Linked DNA regions of Homo sapiens: all the other regions are linked to region 1. Evidence: promoter capture Hi-C in 16 types of primary human blood cells and fetal thymus (Javierre and others, 2016). All regions are on one chromosome and are shown on one strand. The core of a region is centred on a gene start or on the middle of the fragment in contact, and the rest is flanking DNA. Distances in the headings are between cores, read along the strand shown.

Evidence for each region. Contacts are between HindIII fragments. The CHiCAGO score rates a contact against its expected background, and 5 or more counts as called.
Region 2: a contact is called between a fragment that was not itself captured here and the fragment with the promoter of PCNX2 in region 1, in 1 of 17 cell types (M1 macrophages). The highest score is 5.8, in M1 macrophages.
Region 3: a fragment that was not itself captured here is called in contact with the fragment with the promoter of PCNX2 in region 1 in 4 of 17 cell types (total B cells, M0 macrophages, naive B cells and 1 more); the score reaches 6.8 in total B cells.
Region 4: a contact is called between a fragment that was not itself captured here and the fragment with the promoter of PCNX2 in region 1, in 17 of 17 cell types (naive B cells, total B cells, naive CD4 T cells and 14 more). The highest score is 33.4, in naive B cells.
Region 5: a fragment that was not itself captured here is called in contact with the fragment with the promoter of PCNX2 in region 1 in 4 of 17 cell types (naive CD4 T cells, total B cells, total CD4 T cells and 1 more); the score reaches 7.2 in naive CD4 T cells.
Region 6: a fragment that was not itself captured here is called in contact with the fragment with the promoter of PCNX2 in region 1 in 2 of 17 cell types (monocytes and M1 macrophages); the score reaches 6.0 in monocytes.
Region 7: a contact is called between a fragment that was not itself captured here and the fragment with the promoter of PCNX2 in region 1, in 2 of 17 cell types (naive B cells and total B cells). The highest score is 6.6, in naive B cells.

Annotation. Positions count from the first base shown.
Region 1 is chr1:233,294,370-233,297,263 of GRCh38, reverse strand. PCNX2 (pecanex 2) reads left to right here and starts at 1,539. Exons shown (of 34, transcript NM_014801.4): 1 at 1,539-1,938. The coding sequence starts at 1,786. RefSeq lists a silencer at 1,444-1,823 and an enhancer at 2,104-2,153. The HindIII fragment of the contact is 4,266 bases long and covers 1-2,894 here.
Region 2 is chr1:234,111,738-234,114,631 of GRCh38, reverse strand. The region is part of intron 2 of SLC35F3 (solute carrier family 35 member F3); the gene reads right to left. Among named protein-coding and RNA genes, the nearest start is that of SLC35F3-AS1, 160 kb to the left of the region's middle. The HindIII fragment of the contact is 4,205 bases long and covers 1-2,894 here.
Region 3 is chr1:234,085,238-234,088,131 of GRCh38, reverse strand. All of the region lies in intron 2 of SLC35F3 (solute carrier family 35 member F3), which reads right to left. Among named protein-coding and RNA genes, the nearest start is that of SLC35F3, 180 kb to the right of the region's middle. The HindIII fragment of the contact is 732 bases long and covers 1,126-1,857 here.
Region 4 is chr1:234,066,462-234,069,355 of GRCh38, reverse strand. All of the region lies in intron 2 of SLC35F3 (solute carrier family 35 member F3), which reads right to left. Among named protein-coding and RNA genes, the nearest start is that of SLC35F3, 160 kb to the right of the region's middle. The HindIII fragment of the contact is 521 bases long and covers 1,220-1,740 here.
Region 5 is chr1:234,040,248-234,043,141 of GRCh38, reverse strand. All of the region lies in intron 2 of SLC35F3 (solute carrier family 35 member F3), which reads right to left. Among named protein-coding and RNA genes, the nearest start is that of SLC35F3, 140 kb to the right of the region's middle. The HindIII fragment of the contact is 4,602 bases long and covers 1-2,894 here.
Region 6 is chr1:232,622,347-232,625,240 of GRCh38, reverse strand. The region is part of intron 1 of SIPA1L2 (signal induced proliferation associated 1 like 2); the gene reads left to right. Among named protein-coding and RNA genes, the nearest start is that of SIPA1L2, 6.3 kb to the left of the region's middle. The HindIII fragment of the contact is 2,765 bases long and covers 1-2,761 here.
Region 7 is chr1:233,814,913-233,817,806 of GRCh38, reverse strand. No RefSeq gene overlaps it. Among named protein-coding and RNA genes, the nearest start is that of SLC35F3, 88 kb to the left of the region's middle. The HindIII fragment of the contact is 6,208 bases long and covers 1-2,894 here.

The DNA.
Region 1 (2,894 bases), core at 290-2,789:
TTTGATGAATCAGGACAAGTGAACAAGGACACAACCTCCATGTGGGAACAGACTGTTGCATGACCTTTCCTCCTATACCCATGCACGTGACGGCGCTCCTTTAATGTGGAGTTGATTGGTTGATTAACCCATTAAACACTTATACAGCACCTGGTAGGTTACAAGCATTTTGAGCAGATATACAAAAAAGCCCATTTGTTTACAAGCTGTGTCTTTAAGAAAATTACTCTTCCAGTACAGAAAGCAGCCATATTCCATTTTGATGATTCATTCCTACTGATGAATGTAAAGTAGAAGGAAGAGTGGTTATAGCTGATGGCAGACACACCATAGTGAGGCTTTTGCTGTAACTCAGTGGCCTTTCATGTCCTGGGCCCTCTCCTCATGATGGGCCTGTCCTTATCTTCGTTTCAGCCTGGGAAGGCTGGTGTGCCTTTACTGGGCCTGACTAGGGCAGCCATAAGTAAGTGCTGCTGCAGACCAGAACATGGCCAGGACACAGGCAGGCACACAAGTCAGAGGAGTGTGATGTGTTGGGACAGACCAGGTAAGGATGATGCAGGGAAGGCGTGTTGGGAATCATGGAGCCCTCTAATCTTTGTCTCTCCCTAAGGCTCTAGCTCACACAGGGCTTCTGCTCCTCATCCCAAAGGAAGACAAGCTCCTTTTTATCTCTTCCCTTTCCAAAACCCACTCTCAAAAGAGAATCTAAACTGTATCCACTGTAAATGATAAAATATATAATAGCTTAAAGATTATTAATTTTTTGTCCAGTGGGTCTTCCTGTCTAAACAGCATAGAGAGATTTAGACTAATGTTCTATATAGCCAGTTAAATACCTGGGATTATGTTCTAGGAAAGAGATAAAAAACTAAGGCTAACTGAAGCTCCTAAAATTTTATCAGGAAGGTGGTTATCTTCTTTCTCCACCAAGTTGGACAACAGGGAGTGGAGGAGAAACAGTCAGGGAGGACAGAAGATCAGTGGCAGAGGACCAGGTAGAGCTTAGATTAATAGAACGTCTGGGGTCAGCCCTTAATTAAGGAGAATGAAGTCGTGCAGGAAGTGCTCAGGAGAAGAAATTACTTTGAGTGCTGTGTGACAGGACCTTGTATGAGGTAAATACTTGGGTGCAAAAAAGGACAAGGACAAGGAACGTGTCCTGGGTCTGTGCCTTCTGCATGAGAACACCCTTGCACGTCCCCTAACAGGAGGATCAGAGAGAAGGGGAAGGGAAGAGGGGAGAGGCAAAAAAAAAAAAGAAAGAAAGAAAGAAAAAAAGAGCGAGAAAGAAAGAGAGAGAGAGAGAGAAAGGAAGGAAGGAAGGAAGAAAGAGAGAGAGAGGGAGGGAGGAGGAAGGAAAAAGAGAGAGAGAAAGAAAGAGAGAAAAAGAGAAAGAGAGAAAGAAAAGGCTGGAGGCACTCACAGAAATCCTTCTGGCCCCCAGCGAAGGCTAAGGAGGGACTGGGCGGGCGTTGGGAGGAGCCTCGGAAGCAACCTCTGAGCAGCCGCCTCTGAGCACGATGGGAAAATCCTTCCTCCCTCGGACATGGCGCTCACCTGCCCGGCCGCAGCAGCCGGCTCCGGCGCCGCGGTTCGCGGGTCCGGGCGGAAGAGCAGCTCCAGCTTCAAACGTGGGGTGGAAGGAGGCGGCGGGGGCGACGGCGGCGGCGACGGCGGGGGCGCGGCCCGCGGGCCCGGGTGTTAGACCTGAGGGAGCCTGGAGATCCGGCCGGGGCGCGCAGGGTGCAGCGGGGCGCTCACCAGCCCCGGGGCGCAGCCGGCATGGTGTCCCAGGTGCTGCAGCTGCTCCGGCAGGGCGTGTGGGCCGCGCTCACCGGGGGCTGGTACCACGACCCGGAGCAGAGCAAGTTCACCAACAGCTGCCACCTCTACCTGTGGCTGTTCCTCCTGCTGCTGCCCCTGGCCCTGCACCTGGTGAGTGGGGAGGGTCCGGTCCCGGGGAGCTGTGGGTATGGAGGGAAGAAGGAGAAAGGAACCACAGACGTGCCATCAGCCTCACGGGCTTTCGGGTTCGTAGAGATTCTTAAGAGACGGAAAGGGAGGGGCTTCAGAAATTTGGGACAGAGAACATGCAGGGAAAGGGGACTGTGAGGATTCACTGGAAAAGAAAAGAAGTAGACAGGACTGCGGGGGCTCGGGGACTCATTAAGAATTGATGCCGGATGTTAGGATGAGTCACTCTGCTTGTGGCAGGGAGCGTGCAGCCTGTTTTGTAGGTGGGTAACTCTAGGCCTTAGAGCTGGGTAGCTTGGGATAATGTTTGGTGTGAAATGCTGTAGATTGTAGCCAAGAGGAAAAACGAAATGTAAAAAGCAGACTCATTTCAGTTATTGTCCCCTTTTTCCCCCCTCACCTTCTTTCTTGTTTTGCTTTGAGAAGGCAGTTCAGTTATCAGTTACTCACATTGTAATTTCTACACCACTATGTATAGAAATCTGTAGGAAGATATAATAATGGATAAATCTAATGTACTTTATGCTAAACAAAGTATTACAACATTTAGATGGGGCTTGACATTTTAGTGGGGTTATGGTAAGTGAGTGCTTGCTGAAGAACTACATAGATGGCCTTCTTAGGTAAATTATACGTAATTAAAACAATGGTTTACCTGCTTTGAAAAGCTGTACAGGTAAGGTGTTCCATGTCTTATTAAACTTTACGTGCCAAGAATCTAATTTTGGTATGTCGGTTGGAGGACTTTATTCCTAACACATTATTTGATCATTTTTTTTACAGCAAAAATCGTCAATGAGTTTGCATGACTGATGGATTCCGAGTTTGACATTTGTGATTGGGTTTCTCTTTACTCTTTTTCCGGCAGTGTATCCAAAGGGTCAGAACTCTGGGTGTGAAGTCATGATGCCTAGGTT
Region 2 (2,894 bases), core at 290-2,789, 820 kb before region 1:
GAATTAAATCTCAATTCTCAGCAAACAAAGACATTCTTTTCAAAGTTAAGTGTACATGAACACAAGTGGAGAATAGCAAAAACAGATTAGTCTTGATTCACAAATCCCTTAACTATCTCACGGTATTCTGCAATTCTCCCTTCAAACTAATAGTACTCCATTAAAATAGAACCTTTCATAAATATGTCAGTTTATAATTAAAAACAAATCAGCCATATTGGAAATGTAGTTTTATCTTCTTTCCTTTACTCACATTTGAAGGACCAAACAAGCAATCTTTTAAAAACAGCAATAACAACAAAAACTCAAGAATTAGGAGCTTTTCATAACAATTTCAGTGCACATTTTTCAAATTTGTTTTCCTTTCCCAAACTTAAGCAAAAACTCATTATCTTCTCATCAGCAATAAATACCATGATATAAATTTCCAAAGAACAGCAGAAATCTATTAATGGCATGCAGTGGTGTGCTGGAGCCAACTCATACTGGCTCATAAGACTATCGTGTGTATCTCCTTCCAAACACAGTCTGTGATGTCACACTGGTAGTTTGAAACCAGCCATAGTGGGAGCACTTACCCTGCGGAACTGGCAAATGCTGCAAATCAGGGTCCCTCTTGCCCCAGTCTCCTCCTGGAGAGCCGATTGTTAAACTCTTACCAGCACACATTGCATAAGGGAGGCAAGAGAACACTTGTATCCGAGTCTTTGCACTTTGCTGAGAAATCTCTTACGTGTCACCAAAACCTTTTCTTATTTTTTTATTTTGGAGATGGCGTTCTGCTCTTGCTGCCCAGGCTGGAGTGCAATGGCACGATCTCGGCTTGCTGCAACCTCCACCTCCCGGGTTCAAGCAATTCTCCTGCCTCAGCCTCCCGAGTAGCTGGGATTACAGACGCATGCCATCATGCCTGGCTAATTTTTGTATTTTTAGTGGAGACGGGTTTCATCATGTTGGTCAGGCTGGTCTTGAACTCCTGATCTCAGGTGATCTGCCCATCTCATCCTCCCAAAGTGCTGGGATTACAGGCGTGAGCCACCATGCTTGCCTACATGTCACCGAAATCTTAATGGTCATGAACTAAAGTCTATGAACACAAGAAAGACTTCATTTTAGGGCAGCCTATAATTAAACAATTTAATATCTTAAATCCCAATTATACCTTCCAACATTACATTTACATTTAGCAGCTTCTTCCTCCTCTAGCTTCTTTAAATTTCTCATAAATCAAGAGAAAATAAGTATTAGCCTGTAGTGAGTATGTTCAGAGCTTACTTTATGAAACAGTTTTCCTGGAATGCAAACAAAAAACAAATGCTTAAGGGATCTCCAGACAACTGCCAGGTTTCTCCTGGCTCCATCCTGATTCTTTTATGTCCCAGGTCTAAGGCCAAGGGCTTACTTTGATGATTATGGCAATTTAGTCTGTGGTTGGACGGAGAGGACAAATGTGGAAATTATCAGGGGCTCATAAGAGTGCTTTGATTATGTCAGAAACTTTAAGCACAGCACATATATTAATAGTTATTTCTTTTCTTTCTTTTCTTTTTCTTCTTCTTTTTTTAAAATGGGGATGAGGTTTTGCTCTTTTGCCCAGGCTGGTCTCGAACTCCTGGGCTCATTGGTCTCAAACTACTGGGCTTGAGCGATCTTTTCACCTCAGCCTCCTGAGTAGCTGGGACTACAGGCATATGCCACCATGCCCAGCCTCAAGTAAAAGTTATTTCTGAAACCGGTCATTAAGAATGTGAATTATAGGCCGGGCACGGTGGCTCACGCCTGTAATCCCAGCACTTTGGGAGGCCGAGGAGGGTGGATCATGAGGTCAGGAGATCGAGACCTTCCTGGCTAACAGGTGAAACCCTGTCTCTACTAAAAATGCAAAAAAAAAAAAAAAAAAAAAAAAAAATTAGCTGGGCATGGTGGCGGACGCCTGTAGTCCCAGCTACTCTGGAGGCTGAGGAAGGAGAATGGGGTGAACCCAGGAGGCGGAGCTTGCAGCGAGCCGAGATAGCGGCACTGCACTCCAGCCTGGGTGACAGAGTGAGACTCTGTCTCAAAAAAAAAAAAAAAAAGAGTGTGAATTATAAACTTCACAAAAGATTGGGTAAAATTTCCAAACACAATACAAGACAATAACTATTTGGGATTACTTTTGGAAATACGGGGTAGAAGATAAACTCTGATATGAGTCACATGAGAGAAAAGGACAGCAAGGTGTTCTGTGCATTGTTATAGGGAAAGTATGTGTCTAAGCACAGATTTTTTTGTTTTGTTTGTGACAGGTTCTCATTCCATCACCCATGCTGGAGTGCAGTGGTGTGATCCTGGCTCACTGCAGCCTCGAACTACTCCCAGGCTCAAGGAATCCTCCTACCTCAGCCTCCTGAGCAGCTGGGGTCACAGGCATGCACCACCATGCCTGGCTCCTTTATTTTCTTTTTTATTTTTATTTTTTTGTAAAGACGAAGTCTCACTGCCCAGGCTAGTCTTGAACTCCTGGGCTCAAGTGATCCTCCTGCCACTGCCTCCCAAAGTGCTGGGTTTACAGGCATGAGCCACTGCACCTGGTCTAAGCACTGAATTAACCAGCACAGCCATGGCAAGGATGAGAAAGATCTGAGGTTCTGCCGAAAGCATGGCCTGCATTTATCTCAGGCTGCTCCACTCGGAGGATGAGCTATTCTCAGGCGCTTGTCTCCCCCAGGATCCTGATGGGGACTACACAGGATACAGAAGGACAAGGCCAACCTCACCCTAAACATCTTGCTGTGTTCTGAAAGCCCCATCTCATTGTTTCTCCTATTTTTAAAAAAGTCTTCTTTTCTTTCCTTAGCATAATTCTCAGCTTTCTCCAGGCCTGAGCTCTGAGGCCGCTGTCCTGGGGAAGCTCT
Region 3 (2,894 bases), core at 242-2,741, 790 kb before region 1:
GCAAATCACTGCTGTAGGTGCTGGAAATACAACGTACAGAAGAGAGAAATCCCCTGCATTCATGGAGCTTACATTCTCCTGGGAGGGAGGAATGAAAACACAAAGAAGTAAATATAGAAGAATATATCAGAATGAGGAGACTAAGCTGGAGGCAGGTGTGGAGGGGATGTTTTAGAAAGGGTCAAGAAAAGGACCCGTGAACAATGAATAAAGAAGGGCCATGTCACTATCTGAGGCAGGTGCAGTGCAGGCAGAAGAATGTTGTGCTAAAGTTTTGAGGCAGGGATAACCCTGGTGTGTGTGACCACTATCACCAAGGAAGCCCCATGGCTGTAACAGAGAGGGCAGAGGGAAATGAGCTGGGAGATGTGGATGAGGTTAGACCACCCGGGACTTCACATTTAAGGACCTTGAATTTGTTTCTGGGTGGGTTGAGAAGCCATTGGAGGGTTTTTTTTAACAGAAGAGTGATACAATTTGTTTTATGCTTTGAAAGGCTCACCAAAGCTGTTGTCTGATGAATGGAATGAAGAAAGCACAGTGCAGTGGGAGGATCCTAGGCTAAAGTCCAGTTTCCTTGGTCCCAGGCCTGGCTTGTTCACTAGCTTGGTTGGGTGATGTTGAACAGGACATTTAACTCTTGGCTTATTGGGTGTCGTTAGGCAGAACACTTAACTCTGGGCAGTTCTGTGCCCCTCTGTAAGTATGAAGGAGCAACCTCGGATTGTGGACCTTCGGATAATACCGGCTCCAACATTCTGAATCTTGGTATTGAACATTTAACCACACCTAACAGATACACCACCAGTGACAGCAACTATTTAATCATTGTCACAGATGGCTGGGCTGACATGTGGCATGAAAGACTTATGAAGGTTCTAAAGGTGGGCAAGAATGGTTTATTTTATATGACTCACTGTTAGAAGAGGAATCCCTTTCCCCATCCCTAGATGAGCATGGCACACACCAAAGGCTTGGAAGCAGTGGTGGTGGGGGTATTGCTGGTGGCCAGAAAGGCAGGCAGAAAAGGAGAGACACTTCCTCTTATCCACATCTTTGCCAAGCACCTGCCCTTCCTAGAAGTTCAAACAGGTCATGTCAGGTTTATAGCTCAGGCTCAAAGCTTTGAAAAGACTCAGCATACAATATGAAATGATCAGAGAGAGAGGCAATTTATTATACCTGGGGAAATTCAATTGCTAACGCCTGTCAGAAATTTATTCACATGTTGTCAAGGCAGGGACGATAAGTCAGAATTTGCTGCTCTGTGGACACAGCTAGGGGCATCTGTAAATCTCTACATGTCCTTCACACAGGCTTTCCATTTCCTGGCATCTCCAAGTGGATGCTTCTAAAACATCATCATCCTCCTGAACTGTCATGCATGTGAGGAGATTTTCTAGCAACAACAGCCAACCACTCTCTAGCTAGGGTAGGTATTTTCAGCCAAATAAATCTTTAATTATCTACAACAACATCCCAGCCAAGAATGCCCAGCAATCAGCCCGTGTGCAATTATTAATCATGTGTAATCAGGCTTATACTGTGCTATGTGAAGGATTTTGTAGGATTGAATGCACATAAATTATCCCTTTCCTCAAGGTAAATACATCTGTCTTTTCGATATTAGCATTCTGTCCATCAAAGGATGAATAAATATAGTTTTCTTTTAAAATACAGACATGTTCCACTAAAGCAAAAACAGTTGGATTTCTGCTTCAAAACCCAATAATAACTCCCAGTTGGCTATGGAGTAAGATCCAAAGTCCCAGGAATGTCACTCATAGCCCTTCATAGTCTCACCCAACATTCAGCCCCTGACTCATTTCTCCCGTTCCTCAGAATGCACCTTAAGCTTGAACTAAGCAAGACAGCTTGTTGTTTTCAAACACAGTTCTTGTGTAATACAGGATGGTCCTCTGATAGTAAGGAAATGAATGCAGCATACAGGGGTACATCCAGGTCCTGAGTTAGACATGAGCACTTCAAATGGGGAACTAATGCATACATTCATTCACTCATTTCTTCAATAATTTTATCAGGCACTGTGTTAGGATGGTATGATGGAAGGGTATGAACAAAAATGAGCAAGATATATCCTGATCTCAAGGAAATCACACTCCCTTTAGTGAAAACACACAATATTACTGATATTTGACTATTTTTGACATACAAGACAGGGTATATAGTTCAACCTAATAGTTATGCCTAATATCAACTATTGCCAGGTGATTTCTCAACTGAGGACCAGAAATTGTCCCTGCTTAGAATTAGAGAGCAACTGAAACTTCCCAAAGAGCAGTCCGAATCACAATGGGCTTATTGAGTTCCATATCACACACAGACAAACTCTTTACAGGACCAAGACATCACACTAACATGGACATGGAATTTACTAGTAATATAAGCACTGAGTTTTATAAAGTATGGGGAGGGGAAGAAAAGATCTGAGACTGTAGGTGATGTCATTGATAGGGCTCAAGGTTTATGACCTTTATATCCCCCAAATAAAAGCAAACATCTAAAGGGTGGGCACACTGAGGTCTGGGTACAAGGTAGCCCAATACAAATTACATCTCAAGATTGATTGCCATATTCGTGCAAATGCAAGCCAAAATAATAACATCCCAATCCATTCAGACAGAGGGAAATAAGGATCATAGCACAATGATTGGGGAATACTTATCTCCAAATCTGGCTGGGCAGAAATCCCAATAGGACTTAGGAAACAAAAACCAATTTTTGAAGGCCCAAGTTGATCATAAAGATCCAGGCATGGGTGATTTTTAATTATCATCAATAGGTGGGGAAATATCCATAGCTGCCTTCCTCTGTTCCACACAAATATATCTCATGGACACTGAAGCATTCCTCTGCCAAAGATTCATGGAGAG
Region 4 (2,894 bases), core at 231-2,730, 770 kb before region 1:
AACCTGGGAGGTGGAGGTTGCAATGAGCTGAGATTGCACCACTGCACTCCAGCCTGGGTGACAGAGCAAGACTCCCTCTCAAAAAAAAAAAAATGTATTTTATATATATATTATATATTTTTATATAAAATTATATATAATATAATATATAAATATGTATTTATATATAAAATTTTATATATTATATTATATATTATTGTCTATAAATATATTATATATTATATATTTTATATACAAAAATATACAATATATTATAATATAATATATAATATATATTGCATATAATATATATTATAATATATATTATATATAAAATTATATAATTTTATATATTATATATAGTAAAATTATATAATTTTATATATTATATGTAGTAAAATTATATAATTTTATATATTATATGTAGTAAAATTATATAATTTTATATATAATATATTACATATAAAAATATATATAATATATAAATATAAAAAATATGTAAAATATATATAAATATGCCATATATATATATATATATATATATATATATATAATGTCTCAAATCTTATCCTGTCACTCCTCTGCTTGGACATTTCTTTATTCCTGTCTCACAAGGAACAAAAGCCAAGCATTTACAGCGGTCTGCAAGGCCTACGTGGTCTGCACTCTTGCCTCTTACTGCATGCACACATGCACACACACATGCTTGCTCACACACACACCTCTCTGACTCCCAGATTACTGGCTATTCCTGCTCCTACTGTACTTTGTTCCTACTTCTATTATAGTTCCTATTTGTGCCTACTTCTGTTTCAGGGACAGCAATTATGGGTTCTATGATGGCTTCTCTCATAGCTAAGGCATGGTGGCACGCGCCTGTAGTCCCAGCTACTTGGGAGGCTGAGCTGCTTCTTGTAGCTGTTAGCATGTGAGTCTTCTGTTACAGACTGTGAATCAGATGAGAGTCAGGGCTAACTTACCTTTGCACCTTTCACAGCACCCTTGACTGCATCTGGCTGACAGCAGTTGTTGAAGTTTTCTTAATACAGGAGTTTCAAGAGGAAGCCATAAACCAAAAGGCAGGGACAGAGTGCATTCACTATTTCTGAAAGTTTGAGGTGCGTGGAATTTTTCGCATTGAATCCCACGTTTACAGTCACTTTCTTAACACATTTAGAGACACTTCATTTTCATTTCTGATGGAGTTTCGGTTGGCAGAGGCTCCTAACACTTTTAAGCTTATCTGTCTCCCTTCCAATCTCATAAGTGGTTCATTATCCTTAAATTGCTTAAACATCTCTAGGAGAGCCATGAGGTTTTCATAATGTGAGTAAATGGCATTTAGTTGGAAGGCTCTCGGTTACCTGAAACCAAGCCCAGAATTTTGGAATAAGTAAAGCCCACCTCTGGAGGCCAAACAGATATTTCAGAGGTCTTCACCAAACCCAGCTACTTTATTTGAAGGTAAATGGCAGAGGCCTTGTGCATGAATTACCCTTTCCTGTGTAACAAATCACCACCACCATGACCCATGACCCCTTCATTTGCTCCTCACTCTGTGAATGAACAATCAGGACTGGACTCAGTCAAGCAGTTCTGCTGGTTTTGCCAGGGGTCATGCATGCAGCTGCAGTCATCTGGAGGCTCAGCTCGGGCTAGGTGGTATCAAATGTCCTCACTCACATGTGTGGTGGTGCTGGCTATTGGCTGGGACTCTCTTTGCCACGTGATTTCTTATCCTCCAGGAGGACAACCCAAGCTTCTTCGCCAGGTAGTCTCAGGGTTCTGAGAAAAGAAGCTGTAAGGCCCCCAGATTTCAGGGCTCAAAAGTTGCTTCTTAGGCTAAGCAAGTCAGCTGATCAAGCCCAGAGTCAGAGTCAAGAAGACCACTCACGGATGCGGACATAAGGAGAGGATATGCGGAGGTCATGCTGCAAATGATCCACCACACCCTTGCTCAGAGACCACGGACCGGTGTTTGATATTTTCTAATAAAATTTTTATTTGGCTTTTTAGCCCATGGGATATTATCCTAATATAGTAAGTTAGAATTGTCAATAGACATTGGTTACTAGAGGCGAGTATGCTAAAGGTAGCGACAATAGCCGTTGAAATCTTCAGAAATAGGAAAATAATTGAGGCAAATATAAACCCCTAAGTTGAGATCTCAAAAAGCCTCAAATCAGTTGTCATTTGCAGTGTGTAGGTAGAAAAAAAAATCACAATTGCCTCTGCAATATACTTATGTCCTTATTAAAATGGGATATAACAAATGATGATTGTGGTGATAAACTTTGACAAATCAGAACTAAGAAAGCAGAGTAGAACAGTACACATTTAAGAAAGTTATTTATTATAAGAGTTATTTGTAAAAATGTTTGATCCTTTAAGTGACTAGCTTTATTCATACGCAAATGAAGTCATGGAATTATGTATTCCCTAATGAACTGCAGAAAGTGGGTACAAAAACAGCTTGCAATAACAGAGATTTTAATATAATTGTGTGTGTGTGTGTGTGTGTGTGTGTGTGTGTGTGTGTGTGTGTGGGAGAGAGAGGGACAGAGACAGAGAGAGACAAAGGGAGAGAAAGAGAGAGAGAGAGGGAAGGAAAGAGAGAGAGAGGGAGAGAAAGAGAGAGAAAGGGAGGGAGGGAAAGAGAGAGAGAGACAGAGAGAGAGGTTGGCTTCTATTCTTTGCCCTCGTCCAACTTCTATTTGAGAAGTAGGGCAGGGGCAACCCTTTTTATCTTTGGGAAGGAGAAGGTAGTGGGAAGTGAAGAGGAAGAGACCAGGAGCATAATGGAAGGCAACCCTATTTCCATAGGTAAGAAGCACATGGCCTTCCTGGCGTCCTCCCATTCCTACCTCCATGGATTGCTTAAAAACCATGAGGAAACCTGGACTCACCGCTGCAGC
Region 5 (2,894 bases), core at 154-2,653, 750 kb before region 1:
GGGATAGAGGCTCAAATGTATCTGCAACATATTTTTCTTAAGAAACGGAAGCAACGTACAACAAAATATTTGCATTTAATACAACTAGATGGTGGTTACATCATACATTTGTACCTTTTAATGTATTTAGTTCATAATAAAAAGACATAAAGTTATAAGCATATTACTTAGACTTACGGAAGTAATTAGCAGAACTACTGATAACCAAAACAGTTAAGAAGTTTTCAATGGGGTGTGAGACTAGAGGTGGGTGAGCGAAGGCGGAAGACGGCTGCTCGTCAAAGCAGGCTCTTCGACACCATTTCAGTTGTTACTAGGTGCACCTACTACACTTCATAAAAACGGGATCTTCAACACAAGGAATGAAAAAAAGGAAAAGGTTACACGCACCATGCTTGCAACTATGCAGAACATACAGATGGAAATAAACTCTCGAAGGAAATGAAGTGATAAAATAATTGTGTCAGGATGTTGTGATTATGGAACTTTCTTTCATTCCCATATCCTCTGTGGTTGTATTGCTTACACAGCCTAAAATTACTTTTTAAATTAGCAATGTATCAAAAAAGACAGATGCATGCTCTTTAACTGATGTTGAAAAAAACAAAAGAAAAAAGAATTTGTTTCCGCTTGGGGAAGATATTGATTATGGCTGTCATTTGGATTCTTTTTATTCTTTGGTTCTTTTTACATCAGTAGTTGCCAACCTTTTATATCCTAAAGACCATGATCATAGATAGTCTTTTTTAAACTTGAAATGGTAGGAGCCTTTCTTTAGAGACAGAATTAACTTTACTGAATAATATAAAATTGGTACCATATCATCAGAATGTATTAATCATGCCCCTGTTTCTTTCAGTGTTCTCATATAACTATGCTATATGAAATATTAATTCTGATACAAATGACTTGATAATGATCCACATGGAAGGTCCAATGGACTATTTATTATACTGCTTATTATGTACCATTTCCTCTGACTCTGTCAGTGGCAGCTGTTTGCTGGAGAGAGAACCCCAAGGCAAGTTGACTTCGGAGGAGAAAGCCAGAGGGGCAACTTGACGTCAGGGAAGAGTGACCTGCCTTTACTGTCTAGCAGTAGGAGGGAGATTTACTGGGCAGCTGGCCTACTTCTACATGCATGGGCCCCACTGATGCCATAAGGGGGACATGCACGTGCATAAAGATGGTGCCATGAGCTCAGAAGGCATCACCCAGGACTCCTTCCTGTGTGTCACAGAACCACAACAAAAATGATTTCTGATTTGAACTGCCCACCCATCATCCACCCATCTAAGGATCTGGTCAATATGATTATTGAATACCTACATGCTTTTGCACCATGCTGGGTACTATGCATGTATAATGGAAACTGTGCCTCCGTAAAAATCACAGGTGTAATAGAATATAATCTCATTCACCTTCAAGTAAGTTGTGATGCAGTCCTGCTTTGCAAACAGAATCTTTGTTATAAAATGTGCAAGTGATTAGAAGAGTATTTGCAAGAACAATTATAAAACATGCTGTGGTTATGCTATTTTCTTTTAAGTCTGCCACAGGTGTGTGTGAGTGTGAATGCATATAGATACATACAGGCAGACACACTAGATGGATAGCTGCATGTATGCTCTCAAACTTCATTTTTTTCTTCCTGGACACAACTTCCTTTGCAGTTAGATTGGGTGCATGTGACTGGATTCTGGTCAATGGATGTAGGTGGAAATGATGTATATCAATTTCAGGTCTGGAAAGAAATCCCTCCGTAGTCCTTTTCCCCCTTCCTGGAGATCACAGCGACTATGTACAGAAGGTGGACGTAGTACAAGAAGGATGATCATGGATCCCTGAGTCACCACTTGGAGGAGAAAGATCCAGCAGACCACTGTCACACAGTGACAGGAGTGAGAAACAAACACTTAATGTGTTAAGCCATTGAGAATTTGAGGGTATTTATTACAGTAGTAGTGTTAATTGTCCTGTGTTTCACAATTAACTGTAGAAGCAGATTAGCCCTAGAGTAATGATGTTGATGACATCATTACCAAAGAAGGAGATTTTACATTACTGTGCTGCTAAGAAGAAAGTTAAAAACGAATATACCTCTGCAGAGATAGCACATGTGTTTCTACCCATGAAAGGTTATTCATATCATAACACGTCTTACGTTCAGCCAACTCTCCTGCAGGACCCTGCAAATGATCCATAGCATTACTCATCTGTTCGCAGCTGCAGAGTCTGGTTGAATTAATAACTTGGGTGCCTTCTATGTGGCAGGCCCAGACATGTTTTCTTTTGAATCTTTTTTCAGACATATCCCAGAATAAAGTCGGTCCCCAAACTTTCCCTAGGATGCCGGACCCTCCTTAGGTCTTCTTAGTTGTTAACCACTTTGTAATTCTCTCCTACTCCATCCTCAAGAGGCATCAAAGGCCAGAGTGCCTATGCAGCCTTGTCATCCAGGTGAGAGCCAGGACCATAATCATGAGGCTCTGTGGTTTCATCCATGACAGGAAGCAGTTGATGCAGCCAACCCACAAAGGAAAGTCTCAAAGCCAGGTGCCTCCTCTGTCAGTGTGGATGCTTGTGTGGGTCTACCACACTTTCTTCTGCTAAATCGTACATTCTGAATGATAGAAGCAGGGGGCAGAGAAACTCTAGGCAGACAGGGGCGGGTCCCTGGTGAAGCCCGGCCTTCAAGTCAAAAAGCCTGAAACCTGTGACCCAAAGCGAGAACTTCTATCCCTATTTGCCCTCTCTCTCCTGATTGGTTCCTTTTGAATAACGTCTTTTTACAAATCAAATGTTGCCCATCCTGCTCCCCCATTCTGTGCCTATAAAGACCCCAGATTCAGCTGGTAGAGGAAAGAAGCAGCTGGATGTCAGGGAGAGAAACT
Region 6 (2,894 bases), core at 130-2,629, 670 kb after region 1:
TCGAGGCTTACAAGGAGTCACACTCTCGGTTATAGTTAACTACTAATGCTCTTCATATCTTATAACTAGCCCATATAGCTCCACCTTTCCACATGGATATCCTGAAAGAGTGTGTCAAACCTCCTTTGCTGGTTCTACTGACCAAGTTATGCTGAGTAATAATGAGTTCATTTTCAGTGTGTCCCTAGTAACGAGCACTCTCTTCTGCATATGATTAAGAAAATGTGTTAAATGACTGACTGGATTGAGACACTAGGGTCACACTGTGATCTGTGACCTCCGGAGGCCTTAGGAACTGCAGTGCTTCTAGGAAAAATCAGAATATTGTTGGACTTTCTTCAGCTTATTTTTTGGTTTGGTATTCTCTTGTGTTGAATTGCTTTCAGATAGTGGGGAAGAACACCACAGTCTCTTCCGGTTTTGTTTTAATTGGTTGATATACTTCTCTTCCTATTTTACTAATAAACATTTAGCCAAAAGGGGTGTCTTGAACTCTGCCCATTAGATTACTCCATATTTTTCACTTCTACATATTTGCTTAATCTTCTGAGAAATATCCCCATTTAGTTGAGTTCCTCAAGAAATCAGAACAGTCCGAAGTAAGCTATCTGGTAGTTTATTCAAACTCTTAAGTAAAAATATCTAGGTAAAGAGCCAGTGTTAAAAATTGTTATTGTGGAAAGTAAGAACTCCTGGGTGAATAAAAGATTATGTCTGCTGAGATGAACTATTGTGTGGAGTTTTAAAAGAAAGTTCTGGTTAATGCTTAAGACATAGTGTCCTGTGAAGTCAGCATAACTACTTTCACTGTCTTCTGGAGGTGGTTTTGATAACACATTTGGTTCCTTGTTGAACAGTGGGTATTCACATTGTTCAGGAATAGCTTTGGGATACTGTCCTCTCCGTATTGAAGTTTCTAATAAGTAATTTTAGGAATTATAGTTTTGATTCTTTGTACAGGGCAAATGCTACCTGTTTCAGGTGTTTAAATGGCCTAATGCAAGAAACAGTGGTTTCTTTTTAGCAGGTTCTCAAGGTTCTCAAACTTTTTTCAACGTGCATCCCATCTATACACAATTGTCTAAGTGTTCATGTATGTATGCGTATACATGTATACATATCTGCATGCACGTTTGTGTGTGTGTATATGTATAATATATCTGTATGTATAAACATATACTTTACTGTGCTAAGATATTATGGACATAAAACAAATGTACATTTTAAGAAGATTAATATTAAAAATAAATAGATGTAGAAGTATTTTCTCTGCATCTCAAGGGCATTTGTATCTTTGAAATGTGTGGCCCCTGTGTAGAGACCACTGTTGTACTATCACTGGTTAGAGTTTATAGCAGTTGAGAAATGGAATTTCTAGGGAGCCTGTAGGGTCTTGTGAGGCAAGCGGAAGACAAACTCCACTCTTGATGGGCCTTATATTTACTGTGTATTTATTCTTTTTCCCGAAGACATTTCTGACTTTGGCCTGTTTTCTTCCAGAATTGCTTGTGGGTCTTGGTTTGGGGTTTCATTTATTGAGGGGTAGGAGGTTAATGTAATGGCGATGCTATTCTCCTTAGAAAGTTTCTAATTGAACTCAGCTGTTTTTTTGTTTTGTTTTGTTTTGTTTTTTGAGACAGAGTCTCGCACTGTCACCCAGGCTGGAGTGCAGTGGTGCGATCTTGGCTCACTGCAAGCTCTGCCTCCTGGGTTGCTGCCATTCTCCTGCCTCAGCCTCCCAAGAAGCTGGGACTACAGGTGCCTGCCACCATGCCTAGCTAATTTTTTTTTGTATTTTTAGTAGAGACGGAGTTTCACCATGTTAGCCAGGATGGTCTCGATCTCCTGACCTCGTGATCTGCCCGCCTCGGCCTCCCAGAGTGCTGGGATTACAGGCGTGAGCCACTGTGCCTGTTCTGAACTCAGCTGTTTAAGAAGCATCATACTATCACACTCAGACGAAAGCATTCCCAGGATCAGGGTATGTTAAAAGTTCAGATTGACAGCCTAGCTCTGTCTGTATGTGATTGGCCAGAACTGTAGCACACAGCCACCCGTAGTGCAAGGAATGCCTGGCTTCCCAGCCGTTAGTGGGTTGGGAATGAGTGAGGAGAGACAGCAGGGAGCCCTGCTCTTGTATCTCCAGTAACTTCCAGCTAAACGAGCACCATCCACCCCCACCCATCCTCCTGTTCGATTTTAATAATGGAACATAAGCAGCAAACAGGCAGGGACATTTCTGGTTTACTGCTGTATTCCCTGCACTTAGGTGGTTTTTGCCACATAATAGGCTCACAGTAAACAAATATTTGTTAAAGAAATGATTGGGAGTTGTGGGTTGAACGTAAAAGAACTTCCTTTATCTTGGCTTTTGTTGAACTAAATACTGTTGAGCAAGTTCTAATCATTATTTCTATTGTACATGATCTATCTTGAACAACAGTTTATACCTCATTTATGCCTTTCCTGGGTCGTTTGAAATGACCTGTGATTGAACTCTGATATGGAACTGGTAAAAATGTGGAAGTTTCTGAAGAGGGACTGTGTTCCATCTGTTACATCAAGAACTTTATAGCCCCATTCAGAGGGGTGTGGTTCCTGGGAGCCTGGGCACCCTTAGGTGGCCGCCTTTCATGAGAGAGTATGATTCACACCTTTCCCAGGTTTCAAAGTCTCATCTGTGCTGATGCCTGCATAGCCCTATTTGAATCCCATGAGGCTGCAGTTGACTTAAAAGCCCTGGCTGGGGCTTAATCAAGCTTACTGAACAGAAAGGATTTCTGAATTGTGTAGTACTGTCTGTAGTCCTTTAGCTCTCAGTCCATTAGCAGGGTTCATTTCTACAGGAAATCATGATGTTTAAAAACCCCATCAGTATTGTATAGTGCATCTTT
Region 7 (2,894 bases), core at 206-2,705, 520 kb before region 1:
CAATCACAGTTCCAAGCCTTCTCCTGCACAATCTCCAAACATTATGTCTCCTGGTTTCCTATATCTGGCCTCTCCTTTTCTGGATGCTTTTCTGTATCCATAGCAGGTCCCTCTTCTTGTCCCTGAGACAGGTGTTTCTCAGGGCACAGCCTTGGGCTTTCTGCTCTTTCTTCTTTACTAGTTTTCACTGTACCTGGACAAAGGAACTCACTGTGAGTCTTCAGTAATCTCTTCAGTGCTACTGACTCCCAAATCAATAACTCCAGCACAATCTTTCTTCTGCACTCCGCTTTGATGTCTGATAAGTACCTCCAACTCACCATGTCCAGGATTGATTTTATCCTGGTCTCCCCAACTTCCTGCGTTCCTCTTTCTCCAGATGGCACCATGATGGCCCAGCTGGAAACCTTCTCTCTTACTTGCCCACCCAAATGCCTCACACCCCGGCAACCACTTCTTCATATAGACATTTCATTTGGCACTAATTCTGTTTACCTGAATCTATCAACAGAGCCTACTTTCCTGCTCAGATCCAACTACCTCACAGAGATAAGATAGTATTTTATCATTTGGTAGCCTTTTATAAATGATTCATGTGCTGCAGACTGAAATTTTACAAAAAAAAAAGTTGTTAATCCTTAAAGGCAGTGAAGAAAGGAATGGTGATGATACTAGGAAAATTCTCCTCAGTATTACCAAATTGCCAAGGTTTTTTCTTGTACTGTTTCCATGTTCCTTTCATGAACACTAGACTCATTCCTGCTCTGTGCAGTTTCACTGACAAGTGCTGGGGATGCAGAAACAAAATAAGAATACTTGTTCCAAAAAAGTAGCTTACAGAGTAAAGGAGGAGAGTGGTAGGAACACCATAGCCATTCAACAGCGCTGTCTTTCAACACTAAGGTACAGAAGCCAGGGGGACAACAGGCCACCCCTCTGACCAGCAAGGTGTGACGAACTTCCCAGAGGTGCGGTGAAATCTAAGATGAGTTCTGAATTCAGTCATTTATTCAATTCATTTTTTATTCGGTCATTTATTAAATGAATATTTACATTAATTGCTTCACAGTTGCTCTTTAGCCATCTGATCAGATACTAAATCTCTAGCACCAAGCAAATCTTTGCTGTTATTTTTTAAAACCTCGGAATCCCAGAGTTTGACACAGAAAGGAGATGATGCAGGCCAGATCAAATTAAGAAATTAAGAAGAAAAACAGCTTCCCCAGTATGCTCTCTTATTTTCAGAGAGTCAGACTGTCAGGTCAACCCAGGCAGATGGAAAAGGAGATTAGGAAATGCATTCAACATGCTCATGGTCTGCTGATAGCTTTTCAATACTGCTGCCTGTCATTGGGAATACACCGTGCCCTCCTTCTGAATAAATTACAGAGCAATTACAGCCTAAGGGATAGGAGTTTTCCCACTACCTTGTTGAGCACTGCTGTGGCTCAGAAGCTACTTGAGCCACAGTGTGAGTGGGTCTCAGAGAGAACAGCTGCCCTTCCTAACCTACCACCAATTGTCTGGGGTGGGGTAAGTCAGTGAGGGCTTGATCCCAAGACTCAAGCATCAACCTCGCTTTGATGGCTGACACATGAAATGATGTAAATGGATGAATAATCCAGTCCGAGCTTCTGTGCCTTCAGGAATTTTAGCCTTTCCTGGTTCTACCTCCTGGTTCTGGCAACACTAATGAGAGACTGAATAGATAAACAGAAAACAGCCAGACCATGCCTAAAAGACAGAACTCTGACCTACAGCCTGCAGCAACCTGCCCAGGAAGCCAACACAGTAGCCAGCCCAGGAAGCCAGCCGGCTGTGTCAGACTTGTGGAAAGTCAGGTTGCTTTGTCTAGCAACAGTCCAGGAAGTCAAACAAGAACCCCAAAAAGCCATGGCTAATCTTTTTTTGCTTTATAAGTCTTTTTTTAAAACTCACTAATTTTTGATACATCATAATTGTATATACATGTGATATTTCGATACATGCATACAATGTGTAATGATCAAATCAAGGTATTTAGGACATCCATTGGCTTAAACATTTATTATTTGTTTGCATTTGGAACATTCCAAATCTTCTCTTCTAGCTATTGAAATATACAATATATTTTTGTTAACTATAATTACCCTATTGTGCTATCAAACACTAGGACTTATTCCTCCTATCCAACCATAGTTTTGCATTCATTAATCAACCTCTCTTTTTTCCCTGCCCCCACATTACCTTTCCCAGCCTCTGGTATCTATCATTTTACAATCTCCATGACGTCAACATTTTTTAGCTTACATGTGAGTGAGAACATTCAATATTTTTCTTGTTGTGCCTGGCTTATTTCACTCAACATAATGACCTTTGGTTCCATCCATGCTGCTACAAATGACAGAATTTTATTCTTTTTTTATGGCTGAATAGTATTCCATTGTGTATACATGCCACATTTTTAAAAAAGCCATTCATTTGTGGATGGACACTTAAGTTGATTCCATATCTATGCTATATCTAATAGTGCTGCGATAAACATGGAGGTTCAGGTATCCCTGTGATATACTGGTTTCCTTTTCTTTGGATAATAAATATCCATAGTGGAATTGACAGATTGTATGGTAGTTCTATTTTCAGTTTTTCGAGAAAAACTGAATACTATTTTCTGCAGTAGCTGCACTAATTTACATTCCCACCAACTGTGTATTTTCCTTTGGGGCTGGGCACAGTGGCTTGTGCCTTTAATCCCAGCACTTTTGGGAGGCTGAGGGAGGATCACTTGAGGCCATGAGTTCAAGGTTACAGTGAGCTATGTATGATTGCACTACTGTACTTCTGAGCAAGACCCTGTCTCTTAAAAATATATAAATATAAATAAAAAATTCTTAAAAAGTTCCCTTTCTCCACAT